2 separate regions of the Homo sapiens genome follow, and region 1 is linked to region 2. Evidence: promoter capture Hi-C in human tissues and cell types (Jung and others, 2019). All regions are on one chromosome and are shown on one strand. The core of a region is centred on a gene start or on the middle of the fragment in contact, and the rest is flanking DNA. Distances in the headings are between cores, read along the strand shown.

Evidence for each region. Contacts are between HindIII fragments. The study calls those that stand out against the background at their distance.
Region 1: a contact is called between a fragment that was not itself captured here and the fragment with the promoter of ERVV-2 in region 2, in 1 of the 25 tissues and cell types used here (lymphoblastoid cells).

The regions. Positions count from the first base shown.
Region 1 is chr19:53,092,712-53,098,342 of GRCh38, forward strand. All of the region lies in intron 1 of ZNF160 (zinc finger protein 160), which reads right to left. Among named protein-coding and RNA genes, the nearest start is that of ZNF160, 7.9 kb to the right of the region's middle. The HindIII fragment of the contact is 5,693 bases long and covers 1,233-5,631 here.
Region 2 is chr19:53,041,592-53,047,974 of GRCh38, forward strand. ERVV-2 (endogenous retrovirus group V member 2, envelope) reads left to right here and starts at 3,149. Exons shown (of 2, transcript NM_001191055.2): 1 at 3,149-3,367. The HindIII fragment of the contact is 12,011 bases long and covers 1-6,383 here.

The DNA.
Region 1 (5,631 bases), core at 2,829-5,328, 52 kb after region 2:
TGAATTTACCTCTACTTTGAAGTATGTTTGCCTCTCACATCCCCACATGTGGAAGATTTCATCAATGGAAAAGTGGTGATTAATTGAAAATACAATTGTTTAGACAGGAAAAATAGCATATTTCACAACTACATCTACAGTTTCAAAAGATATGGTGTCTGGGATAGATTTGGGGACTTTTGCAAGGTAGACTGCTCTGTGTTACGCAATATTGCTAAGTACCTATGTTGACAAGAAAGCAGTTTCAGCATGGACTTCCATGATCCCAAGCAAAGAAATGATTTGATTTTGGATCTTTTCATTAAATTGAGAATAGTAGGGGTGAATCTGATTATAGATGAAAGCCATGAATCCATTTTGTATATGCAGAGTTTAAATGCTTATACATTTTCATTGAAGCAAAATCAACATATTCACAAGAGATTTAAAAAGGATATTTCTGGCCGGGCACGGTGGTTCATGCCTGTAATCCCAGCACTTCACTTTGGGAGGCCGAGGCAGGTGGATCACCTGAGGTCAGGAGTTCAAAACAAGCCTGGCCAACATGGTGAAACGTTGTCTCTACTAAAAATACAAAAATTAGCCAGGCGCGGTGGCAGCGCCTGTTATCCCAGTTACTAGGGAGGCTGAGGCAGGAGAATCACTTGAACCTGGGAGGCAGAGGCTGCAATGAGCCAAGATCGTGCCACTGCACTCCAGCCTGGGCAACAGAGCAGGACTCCATCTAAAAAAACAAAAAAAAAGAAGAAAGGATGGAAGGGGGAGGCTTAACCTTTGCTATCTGCTAGGATTACAGGGTCAAAATCGGCTTCTACATTGTCAACACATAACACCAAGTGAAACTCAAAACTAATGAACTTGCCCTGGTACCTTGGCCTTTGAGACTCGGCACTGAATCCAGCCTGGGCAACATAGTAAGACCCCATCTATACAAAAAAATTTAGAAATTATCCAGGTGTGGTGGTGCATGTCTATAGTCCCAGCTATTCAGGAGGCTGAAGTGAGTGTGAGATTGCAGTGAGCTATGATCGCACCACTCCAGCCTGGGTGACAGAGCCTGTCTCAAAAAACAAAAAACAGAAGAAAAAAGCTTTGAAGGGCACTCAGCCTTCACTGTGGGTGTACTGAATGTTCCTGTCACACATAAGAGACATCATTAACTGCTAAAGGAAAATTTCAGCTAATTGAAAAAATGAGATGCACCAACTTCATTTCAAAGCCATATACATTTAAAATTCCCTTACAATTGTGTAATAGATCAACAATTGAAAGATAAGGAAACAAGGCATTAGTGATGCACATGCTCCAATGAGACCCCGATATCATACAAGGTAACACTCCAAACTATTTTATCTTCCAAAATGCATCCGAAAGCTTCTTGATCTACAACACAAAATACTCCAAAATACCAAAGGTAACCCAGAAATTTATCTCTGAGATTTTCCCTATAATTCCTCTATTTTAAAAAGTATTCTTTATGTTTAAGGGAATGGTTGGCGACCTAAATTACCAGATACCGTTCCTCCACACACCCTGGTCCAGGGTCCTTGAAACGCCCCTGGACCTAAGCCCAGAGTTCTCTTTCTTCCATCCCGGTGCCTGGCAAATAGAAATGGAAACGATGTTCCGATCGTTGTCACTATGAAACTGAACACAGCACAAGTAGAAATTTCACCTTCGTTTCATCCTCTAAACAGACAAATCAGGTCCCGGATTAATTAAACGGTTCTAATTGCCAGTTCCAGGATGAAACCACTGCCCCACAGGGACCATCCGCTGATGCCCCTGCACCCCTCCTGGTACCCTGAGCTAAGATGAGTTGTGATCCTCTTAATGGTAGGATGCCTGTCTCCACCTGCAAACAAAATGAGTTTTTCACTTAAATCGTTTTCAATGTAAGAGTAAAAAAACCTTAGCCTTCAATTAAGTGGCCCAGTACCATTCTGTTCTTTTGCCTTAAATTGTTTGAAATGTTGGATTAACTGAAAATAAGCAGGAAGCGTCCCTGGACTGAAAATAAGCCGGAAGCATCCCTGCTTATTAACTGAAAATAAGCAGGAAGCATCCCCGGCTAATTTCAATTAGCTGAAACTTTATTTTAGCAGTGCAATGCTGTTGATCCAGTCCTAGTGGAGAGAAAGGCTGACATAGCAGAAAATGACCTGGGGCCAAGAGGAGTAGAGAGCCCAGGCCCGCTCCTTTCCCGGCCCTGCCCGCTTCCCACAGCCCAGGCTGCACCATAGCAGCTTCCACCCTCCCATCCCGCCGCCCTCTTCCAGCCCTTTCCCGTTGCCCAGACCCCAGCCCAGGGCGACTTTTACCCTTCTCACCCCACCCCTTCCCCACTGCCCAGGCCCCGCCCCCACGGTAGTCCCACCCTCCCACCCCACCCTCTTCCACCCCTTTCCCATTGCCCAGACCGCACCCCAGGGCGACTTTCACCCTCCTCACCCCGCCCCCTCCCCACTGCCCAGGCCCCGCCCACAGCAGTTCCACCCTCCCACACGACCCTCTTGCACCCCTTTCCCATTGCCCAGACCCCACCTCACGGTGGCTTCCACCCTCCCCACCTGGCCTCTCCCCACTATCCAAGACCCGCCTCTCGCTGGCGACAGCTCCCTCCCAGAATCCGCTTCCAGTTTTCTCACCGGCAGGAGAGCATTCAGGCCTTTCAGGGCACTCCAGCCCTGTCCAACCACACTCGGAATCCACCATCCCACCAGACGTTAAAATCCCCAGGTGCGCTCATGGGATTGGTAGCGAGTCCCAGCGTTTCCGCGGGAAACTCTGAGACCCGGTGGCTCTGCAGCTTGTCTATGATTTGAACCCTCCCCTTGATTTGGAGACTGGATTGCTCTTTTTAATACTCCCAGTTGGTGGCTGGTGTGCTTCCCAGCTGTCCGCAGGTTTGTTCTCATGAGAGATGACTCCAGAGTGTCTAGTCTTTGCTTTGCATAACGGATGAGGAATACAAAATGTCTTAATCTTATGAATATATAAATTGTCTGTTTATGCACAATGTTCAGTCGTTTATTCACTCATCTCCCGTGGAATCCTAAGCACAATTATAAAAGAGTCACGTTACATGAGATCAGCGTCTAACACAAAGCTTCTGTCTCAATAACAGTAAATAATAATAGCAACATTAAATGAAATATTAGTATTGCTAAAATGGGAGTGTAGTAAAAATTAAATAAGTAAATAATTAAAAGGAAATGATATATGGTCAGGTGCGGTGACTTATGCTTGTAATCCCAGCACTTTGGGAGGCCGAGGTGGGCAGATCATATGAAGTCAGGAGTTCAAGACCAGCTGACCAACATGGTAAAACCCTGTCTCTACTAAAAATACAAAAAAATGACCCAGGAGTGGTGGCACATGCCTGTAGTCCCAGCTACTCCAGAGGGTGAGGCAGGAGAATTGCTTGAACTCAGGAGACAGAGGTTGCAGTGAGCTGAGATCGCACCACTGCACTCCAGCCTGGGAGACAGAACGAGACTCCGTCTCAAAATAAATAAATAACTGAATGAATGAATGAAATATTAGGCCATTTTTATGGTCTTCACTTTGGGAGACTGATGTATGCAGGGGTGGACTGCATGTTTGTCCTTGGGGTGGTCTTTTTCGTGAGAAGGGAGCTGAGCAGGACTAACTGAGGGGCAGAGCCAAGGGCCCTTCATGGAGACCACTCTGCTTACCAACCTGTGGAAGGGCAAGCGCAAGTCCACCCAGAAACACATCTGGCTGACTATGGGATCCCTGTCTGAGGCTCAGCAGACCCACGTGGCCAATAAAAGACCCTAAATTCTGCAAAAAGAAGAGTTTGTCTCTGTGCCCAGGCCCCTCCATGGAAAAAAGGTCCTGGGGTCTAAGATTTCTCACTTGGCAATGATGTTGGCTTGAATATTATTCACAGACCCAGATCCTTGGGTCTTGCGTGGGGCAAACTGACTGCAGAACTGCAGGAAGTGAGAGTCTGAACAGAGCAGCAGAAAGGCAGGCAGGAGACCTGAGGGAGGGGAGAAAGGAGAGAGACAAACAGACCAACCCGTCCTCTCCCTCAATCACCCGCCTGGGGAAGCATTAGTTTCCCATCATAGAGAGGACAACGGGGAAAGGGAGAAGCGTGTGCATAGGATGAGATGTGTGTTGGGTGGACAGAAAGACTCCTTTCCCTAAATGTGACCCCATTAGCTCACCCCATTCTATTGCACAAATTCCTGAGCGGAGGGGCACCCTGTGGGGATGAACACAGCTCTTCCTGCCTCCAGTTCCTGCGTCTCCCTGCCATGACCAGGGCTGTAACCCTCCAACTCCCTTCCCAGGGCCCCGTGGCCCCTCTGCACTGGAGAAAGGTCCATGTTCCACAGCGGGTTTCAAGGACCTTGCCCCTCAGCTCCCCAGCTGCCTTGTGACTCTGTGACTCTGTTATCTTGGAATAAACAGGGAGAGGCCACCGGCCTGGCTGCAAGAATGTGGCAGCTTTATCTTCCCAAGGACAGTCCCAGTGGAAGCCTTTGGGCCGCAGGTCAGTGTGCTGTGTTTCACTCTGATTCTTGGAGAAATCTTTCCCTTACTCTGGGACCCTGATAATCACTCCCTCTTGAGTTGCACCCACAGACGCCCCCACAACAAACCCTCCCTAATGAAAGCCATCTGCGCCTGATTCTTAGGATCCCCGTTGCCCTCTGGACTCAGACACGCTTACAAACTCCCACACTCCCCATATACTTCATAAAGATCCCACAATCCCCAGATACTTCATAAAGATCCAGAAGCCCTGTTATGAAATCTCACAAGCCCCAGTAACTCATGGAATAATATACACAAACACCCCAGGAACTCACTGACCCAGGGCAACGTATTTCCACTCATAGTGACTCCACCCCACAGGGGAATACCACTGAAACCTACCAATAAAACAGAGATGTCTCTAATGATGCAATTAGACCCCAACATCAGGAAAGGAAACACTCCAAATGATCATTTCATCTTCCAAAACACAACTGAAAGCTTATTGATCTGCAACTGAAAATACCCCGAATGCCAAAGGCAACCCAGAAAATAATCTCTGAGATTCTTCCTATCTTTCCTCTATGGGTTTCAGGATGGTTTTTGCACTTCCCAAAGCCTCCACAGAAATCACCCCGTGGAGCGGATGCTGTGGAGCAGCTCTGGGATCCACACCCTCAGGCCAAGGCGCCCATCCTCCTGCTGCTGAAGCTCCCTCTGGGCTCAGCTTAGGTCTTGGTTCTAAGTACACTTCGGGATGTTTTTCTCTGCCTGATTCCACTGCCTTCAGTCCTCTTCACTGTGATGATGAGTTTCCGAATTAAATTCCTGCATGCAAATCTCTGTGTCAGCATCTGTTTCCCAGGTAACCTGAGCTGAGACATCAGGGCATTACAAAATGATCCTGCAGCCCCACAACCACCCCAAAACCCACTTCCAGGTGCTACAGCCAGACCTGAGACTTCTTTCCAAGTGTGCCACACATCCCGTGAGCCCACAGTCACCTGTGGGCCAGGTGCATGCAGCATTCATCCAGCTCCTCTAGAGGCTCAGCATTGCTTCCACGCCTCACTCCACACCTCTAAGGACTTCTTCACCTGTCCCCATTTTTCTACTTCT
Region 2 (6,383 bases), core at 1,899-4,398:
TTTTGTATTGCTTGTAAAGACAGGATTTTGCCATGTTGCCCAGGCCAGTCGCAAACTCCTGGTCTCAAGTGATCCTCCCACCTCAGCCTGCCAAAATGCCAGGATTACAGGCATGAACCACTTAGCCCATCCAGGAAGTACTTTCATCTCTTGAGTATATATTATAGCCTGTGTCACACACAAAAAAGAGAATGTACATATTCTAACACAGATGGAACAATGAAAATGTTTACTACTGTCAAAGAACAAATTTGGACATTGGTTAGAAGAGATTCTATTCAAAAAGTATATTGTGGTAGGGAGAATGCTCCAACCACAAGATCTGCAAATGTTTGAGTCACAAGAAATGGGCTTTTCTTTTCTCTAAAGAAGGAAGCAAGGCTAGAAAGCACCAGGTACAGGGCAGGGGATGAGCATCTGCTGTGACCTATTCAGGGAATTTTTTTTTTTTTTTTTTTTTTGAGACAGAATCTCATTCTGTTGCCCAGGCTGGAGTGCAGTGGTGCAATCTCGGCTCACTGCAAGCTCCGCCTCCTGGGTTCACGCCATCCTCCTGCCTCAGCCTCCCGAGTAGCTGGGACTACAGGCGCATGCCACCACGCCCAGCTAATTTTTTGTATTTGTAGTAGAGACAGGGTTTCACCGTGTTAGCCAGGATGGTTTCGATCTCCTGACCTCGTGATCTGCCCGCCTCAGCCTCCCAAAGTGCTGGGATTACAGGCGTGAGCCACCACGCCCGGCCCAAACAAAGATTTTAAAAAATAATAAATACATGTGTTCTACTTGAAAAACAGAACTAAAAGTAATAAGAACAATAGCAAACTTTGCTCCTTACCTCAGTTTTTGAATGACATTGAAGGGTCCTCAATGTGCATTTCGGCTGTGTGGTATTCATTTCGATCACATGCAAGACACTGATCAGTTCTTGTTGGAAGATATGGCTCTACATTTCTAACTTCAAGGGTCTCTGTAACTGTCGAATTAAGCAGAAAGCTAGGGTCATATTAAGAAAAATAGTGTTCCCTTATACATTTTTCTGCTGATCATGGGAAAACATATTCTCACAGCTTCATGAATTATTTGGTCACAATTTGACAATAAAAACACTAATTTATATGTCAGATCCATGTCACATTCTCATATTAATCTAAATTTTCTTTTTTTTTTTTTTGAGACAGAGTCTTGCTGCATTGCCCAGGCTGGAGTGCAGTGGCGCGATCTCGGCTCACTGCAAGCTCCGCCTCCCAGGTTCACGCCATTCTCCTGCCTCAGCCTCCCGAGTAGCTGGGACTACAGGCGCCTGCCACCTCGCCCGGCTAATTTTTTGTATATTTAGTAGAGACAGGGTTTCACCGTGTTAGCCAGGATGGTCTCGATCTCCTGACCTCGTGATCCACCCACATTGGCCTCCCAAAGTGCTGGGATTACAGGCATGCGCCCGACCTCAATCTAAATTTTCTTGACATCCTTTTTGGTACCAGCTGAGCCCTGACAAAGGAAGGTAATTCAGAGACATTTTCTCTTGTGATCAGAGAAATAACCTAATGAGAATAAACTTATGTTGATTGGGTTTTTTTGTTTTTTGTTTGTTTTTGAGACAGGGTCTCACTCTGTCCCCTAGGCTGGAGTGCAGTGGCATGATCACAGCTCACTGTACCCTCCACCTCCTGGGCTCAAGCCATCCTCCCAGCTCAGCCTCCTCAATAGCTGGGACTAGAGGGTCACGACACTATGCCCAGCTAATTTTTTTGTATTTTTTGTAGACATAGGGTTTTGTCACGTTGCCCAGGCTGGTCCCAAACTTCTGAACTCAAGTGATCCGCCTGTGTCAGCCTCCCAGTGTGTTGGGATTACAGGTGTGCACCACCATGCCCAGCTGAAAATAAAATTAAGGTGAAGAAAGTTGTTCTCTGTGATCTCAGGGGAAAACCTTCAGGTAAATTTGCATTCAGATTGAATAGAAGAAACATACAAATGTGGATGAACTAGATACTACTTTAAAAGTCTTTCTAGCGCCAGGCTCAGTGGCTCATGCCTGTAATCCCATCACTTTAGGAGGCTGAGGCAGGCAGATCATGAGGTCAGGAGATCAAGGCCATCCTGGCCAAAGTGGTGAAACCCCATCTCTACTAAAAATACAAAAACTAGCTGGGCGTGGTGGCATGTGGCTATAATCCCAGCTACTCGGGAGGGTGAGGCAGGAGAATCGCTTGAACCAGGGAGCTGGAGGTTGCAGTGAGCCGAGATCACGCCACTGCACTCCAGCCTGGGTGACAGAGTGAGACACCTTTACAAAAAATAAATAAATAAAGTATTTCTGTCCACAAACCAGCTTGGAGTAGGTAGGTAGCCAGGCATGAGCAGTTAAAGGAGCCCCTGGGAAAGGAATCTTAAGAAACACAGCCCACTGACAATCCCCTTTTGACAGCAAAAGCAGGACAGTGGCTACATTGCCTACACCTGTCCTTGTGGCTGGACTTGTCTGGCCCAGGAAGGGAGTTATCTGGCCCTAGCCAGAAATAACCCAGCTAGGGGATTTTCCCTATTAAGGAGCGTGCACACTCCTCTAATAATTCATCCTAGAATGGCCTTTTGCTCATTATAATACTAAGAAACACATCCCCTTTTTTCAAATATGATTTTAGAAAAAAATAAATAAGGGCTGGGTGCGGTGGCTCATGCCTGTAATCCCAGCACTTTGGGAGGCCGAGGCAGGTGGATCACGAGGTCAGGAGATCCAGACCATCCTGGCTAACACGGTGAAATCCCGTCTCTACTAAAAATACAAAAAAAAAATTAGCTGGGCGTGGTGGCAGGCACCTGTGGTCCCAGCTACTCAGGAGGCTGAGGCAGGAGAATGGCGTGAACCCGGGAGGCGGAGCTTGCAGTGAGCCGAGATAGCGCCACCGCACTCCAGCCTGGGCGACAGAGTGAGACTCCGTCTCAAAAAAAAAAAAAAAAAAGCCACACCCCTGGGTGGAGATTTGAGATGCTAAGGAGATATGTGATGTGTGCATGGACAGTCACAGCACATTCCTGCCCAAATGACTTCCCAGAACATGCTTACTAATAATGGCTGTGCACGGCCCCTTCATGAATAATCATGTCAGGTTCTCATTAAAAGGGTCAGGCCAGCATAAGTAAGGACAGACTCCTTCTTTTCAGGAGCCCACTCGGTTCTGTCGTTCAGGGTGTCGCTTCTTTCTGAGCTCCTGTCTCTTTAAATGAAGGGCATTTACCCTTTAACTCTTTCTGCGCATCTCTTGACTGAATCCAAGAAGACCAAGAACCAGAGGACTTCCACACCCCTCTGGGTAACATCTGGTGTTTTCACCTGGTTACCTGGTTACCTCGCCTGGTTATCCAGGTAAGTACCAAAAAGCTGGTGCCAGATTCTCTGGTTGACGACCTCTGCTTCTTTCTGCACTGAAGAACCTCCTGCCCTAATGCAGATCTGGCAGCTTTAAGGGGAGGGGTTTTTCCTCTCAGGCTCTGTTCACTAACGACTGCCCAGTACCATTTCCCTTCAGCCACTGTCACTCTGCTCCCTCTGGCTGATTTCTCAGCTCACCCTGAGGGGTGATAAGCAGAGGAGGGAGGATTTAAACTCCACAGTGAGTAGATCTGAGACACATGGTGACCCTTCTTGCAGGAGGCTTGTGAAGGTGGCAGGGAATACGCCTGGCTGTGCAGTGACTGGGGAGCTTCATATTTTTTTTTGTGGGGGGGAGGACAGAGTCTCACTCTGTCGCCCAGGCTGGAGCGCAGTGGTGTGATCTCGGCTCACTGCAACCTCCACCTCCCGGGTTCAAGCGATTCTTCTGCCTCAGCCTCCCGAGTAGCAGGGACTACAGGCGTGTGCCACCATGCCCGGCTAATTTTTGTATTTTTAGTAGAGACAGAGTTTCACCATATTGGCCAGGCTGGTCTCGAACTCCTGACCTCGTGATCCGCCCACCTCGGCCTCCCAAACTGCTGGGATTACGGGCGTGAGCCACTGCGACCGGCGCATATCTTTTAATTAAAACTACAATCCGGTGTTAAGTCAGCTCTTATACTTGCCATTCATGGCCGTTCACTCCCCTGAACACCATATGCCCCCACCGTTGATTAATCTCCCAGGTCACTCTGCTTACTCTTTGCTGTCCCTCTCCTCGCCGCAGGGATTTCATGAATTCTTCCTGCGGGTGCAAGCCTCTTGCAGGGCCTGTTTATCCAGGACCTGCTGCGTTTGCTTCACTCAGGCGCCAGAGTCCTTTGAGGGCCTATGCTGATGTTTATACTTTTTTCCTCAGAAATGAGACTCAGCTTTGTCCTTTCCCTTGCCTCCTGTTTCACTGGAGGGACCGGCACTGGGAGGATGCCTGCTTAAAGAAATCCCTCATTTTGGCCGGGCACGGTGGCTCATGCCTGTAATCTCAGCACTCTGAGAGGTTGAGGGGGGTGGATCACCTGAGGGCAGGAGTTCAAGACCAGCCTGGCCAACATGGTGAAACCCCATCTCTACTAAATATACAAAAATTAGCCGGGCGTGGTGGCACACGCTTGTAATCCCAGCTACTTGGGAGGCTGAGGCAGGAGAATCGCTTGAACCCGGGAGCTGGCCATTGCAGTGGGCCGAGATCGCACCATTGCACTCCAGCCTGGGCAACAAGAGCGAAACTCTGTCTGAAAAAAAAAAAGAAAGAAAGAAATCCCTCACTTATTATTGGGTCCTTCTCCGCCTGCCTACTCTTCAAGAATGCCTCATTCTGTGACTCCTCAATGGAACTGCCTGGCTCTTCCAGAGGGTCACCTGTGACCACTTCCTTACTCCCTAGTTTCTCTGTACAACCAGGGTTTCCAATGGGCCACAGGAGACTGCTTTCTCCACCTCATTAGGCCATTGTAACAGACCCGTGAAGTACTCAGGTCCTTTTTGCTTTTTGTTGAATAAGCTGATAGAAAATGCTTCTCACATTCCCCTTGCTGTTTATGTGATCATATAATGGACTAAAAAACCAGAATCAACAGCCCAGTTCACTAACTCTGAGCCCCAGGGGGTCTTCTATGCTTTTCAAGCATTTTTTTCTGTATAAACCCCAAGGAACCTTTTAAGAGTGGGGGAAGATATCACATCTTTTCCGTTCCTGTAATCATTAGTATTAGCCCAATATCATTATGTATTAAGAAGACCTAGGCTGGGCGCATTGGCTCACGTTTGTAATCCCAGCACTTTCGGAGGCCAAGGCGGGCGTGTCACCCGAGGTTGTGAGTTCGAGACCAGCCTGATCAACATGGAGAAACCCCGTATCGGCTGGGCACGGTGGCTGATGCCTATAATCCCAGCACTTTGGGAGGCTGAGGCGGGCAGATCACGAGGTCGGGAGTTTGAGACCAGCCTGGCCAATATGGTGGAACCCTGTCTCTACTAAAAAATTAGCCGGGCCTGGTGGCATGGATCTGTTATCCCAGCTATTCAGGCGGCTGAGGCAGAAGAATCTCTTGAACCCTGGACACAGAGGTTGCAGTGAGCTGAGATCGTGCCACTGCACTCCAGCCTGGGTGACAAAGTGAGACTCCATGTCAAAAAAAAAAAGAAACCCCGTCTCTACTAAAAATACAAAAATAGCTGGGCATGGTGGTGGACACCAGTAATCCCAGCTACTCAGGAGGCTGAGGCAGAAGAATCGCTTGAACCCAGGAGGCGGAGGTTACCGTGAGCCAAGATAGCGCCACTGCACTCCAGCCTGGGCAACAAGAGAGAAACTGTCTCAAAAAAAAGGACTTTAGAAGTCCCTTCTCTGCAGAATTCAGCAGGGGCACAACTACTGGGCTTCCTGCAGAACCAAGGTCACTGGGAACATGAGAGAAGAGAAGAGAACTACTCTCATGGCAGACATTCTTCCACCCGTCCTTACCCAACACGGAAGAGTGGAAGGCATCACTGCTGGGCATCAATCCCAGGAAATCTAAGAAATCCTTCTGAGCAAAACAATAGGAAGAAATGCAAACAGCAGAGCACACAGTAGGGCTAATTCCAGAGCTCCAAGGTGAAGGACACTTCACCCTTGCAGGGAGAGGCATGAGACACCTCATTTAGGTCAAGGATTGGAATGCCTGACCTTCATGAGTCACCAAATAGGTAAAGGGACACTTCCTCTATCCTGCATTCTCTCTTGTCTTGTCTTTCAGATGGGTAATCAGATCTTTATATCCCAGGATTCCCCTCCTGGATCCCCTTGGAATCTGGGAAAAGGTTGATCCCCAGATTGTAAAACAAGAGACTGATTTTCCTTTGCAATATAGTTTGGTCAAAGGTGGGGAGCTTAAATGTTAATACCATATTCCAGCTTGACCTTTACTGCCAACACCAACACAAATGGTCAGAAGTCCCTTATGTG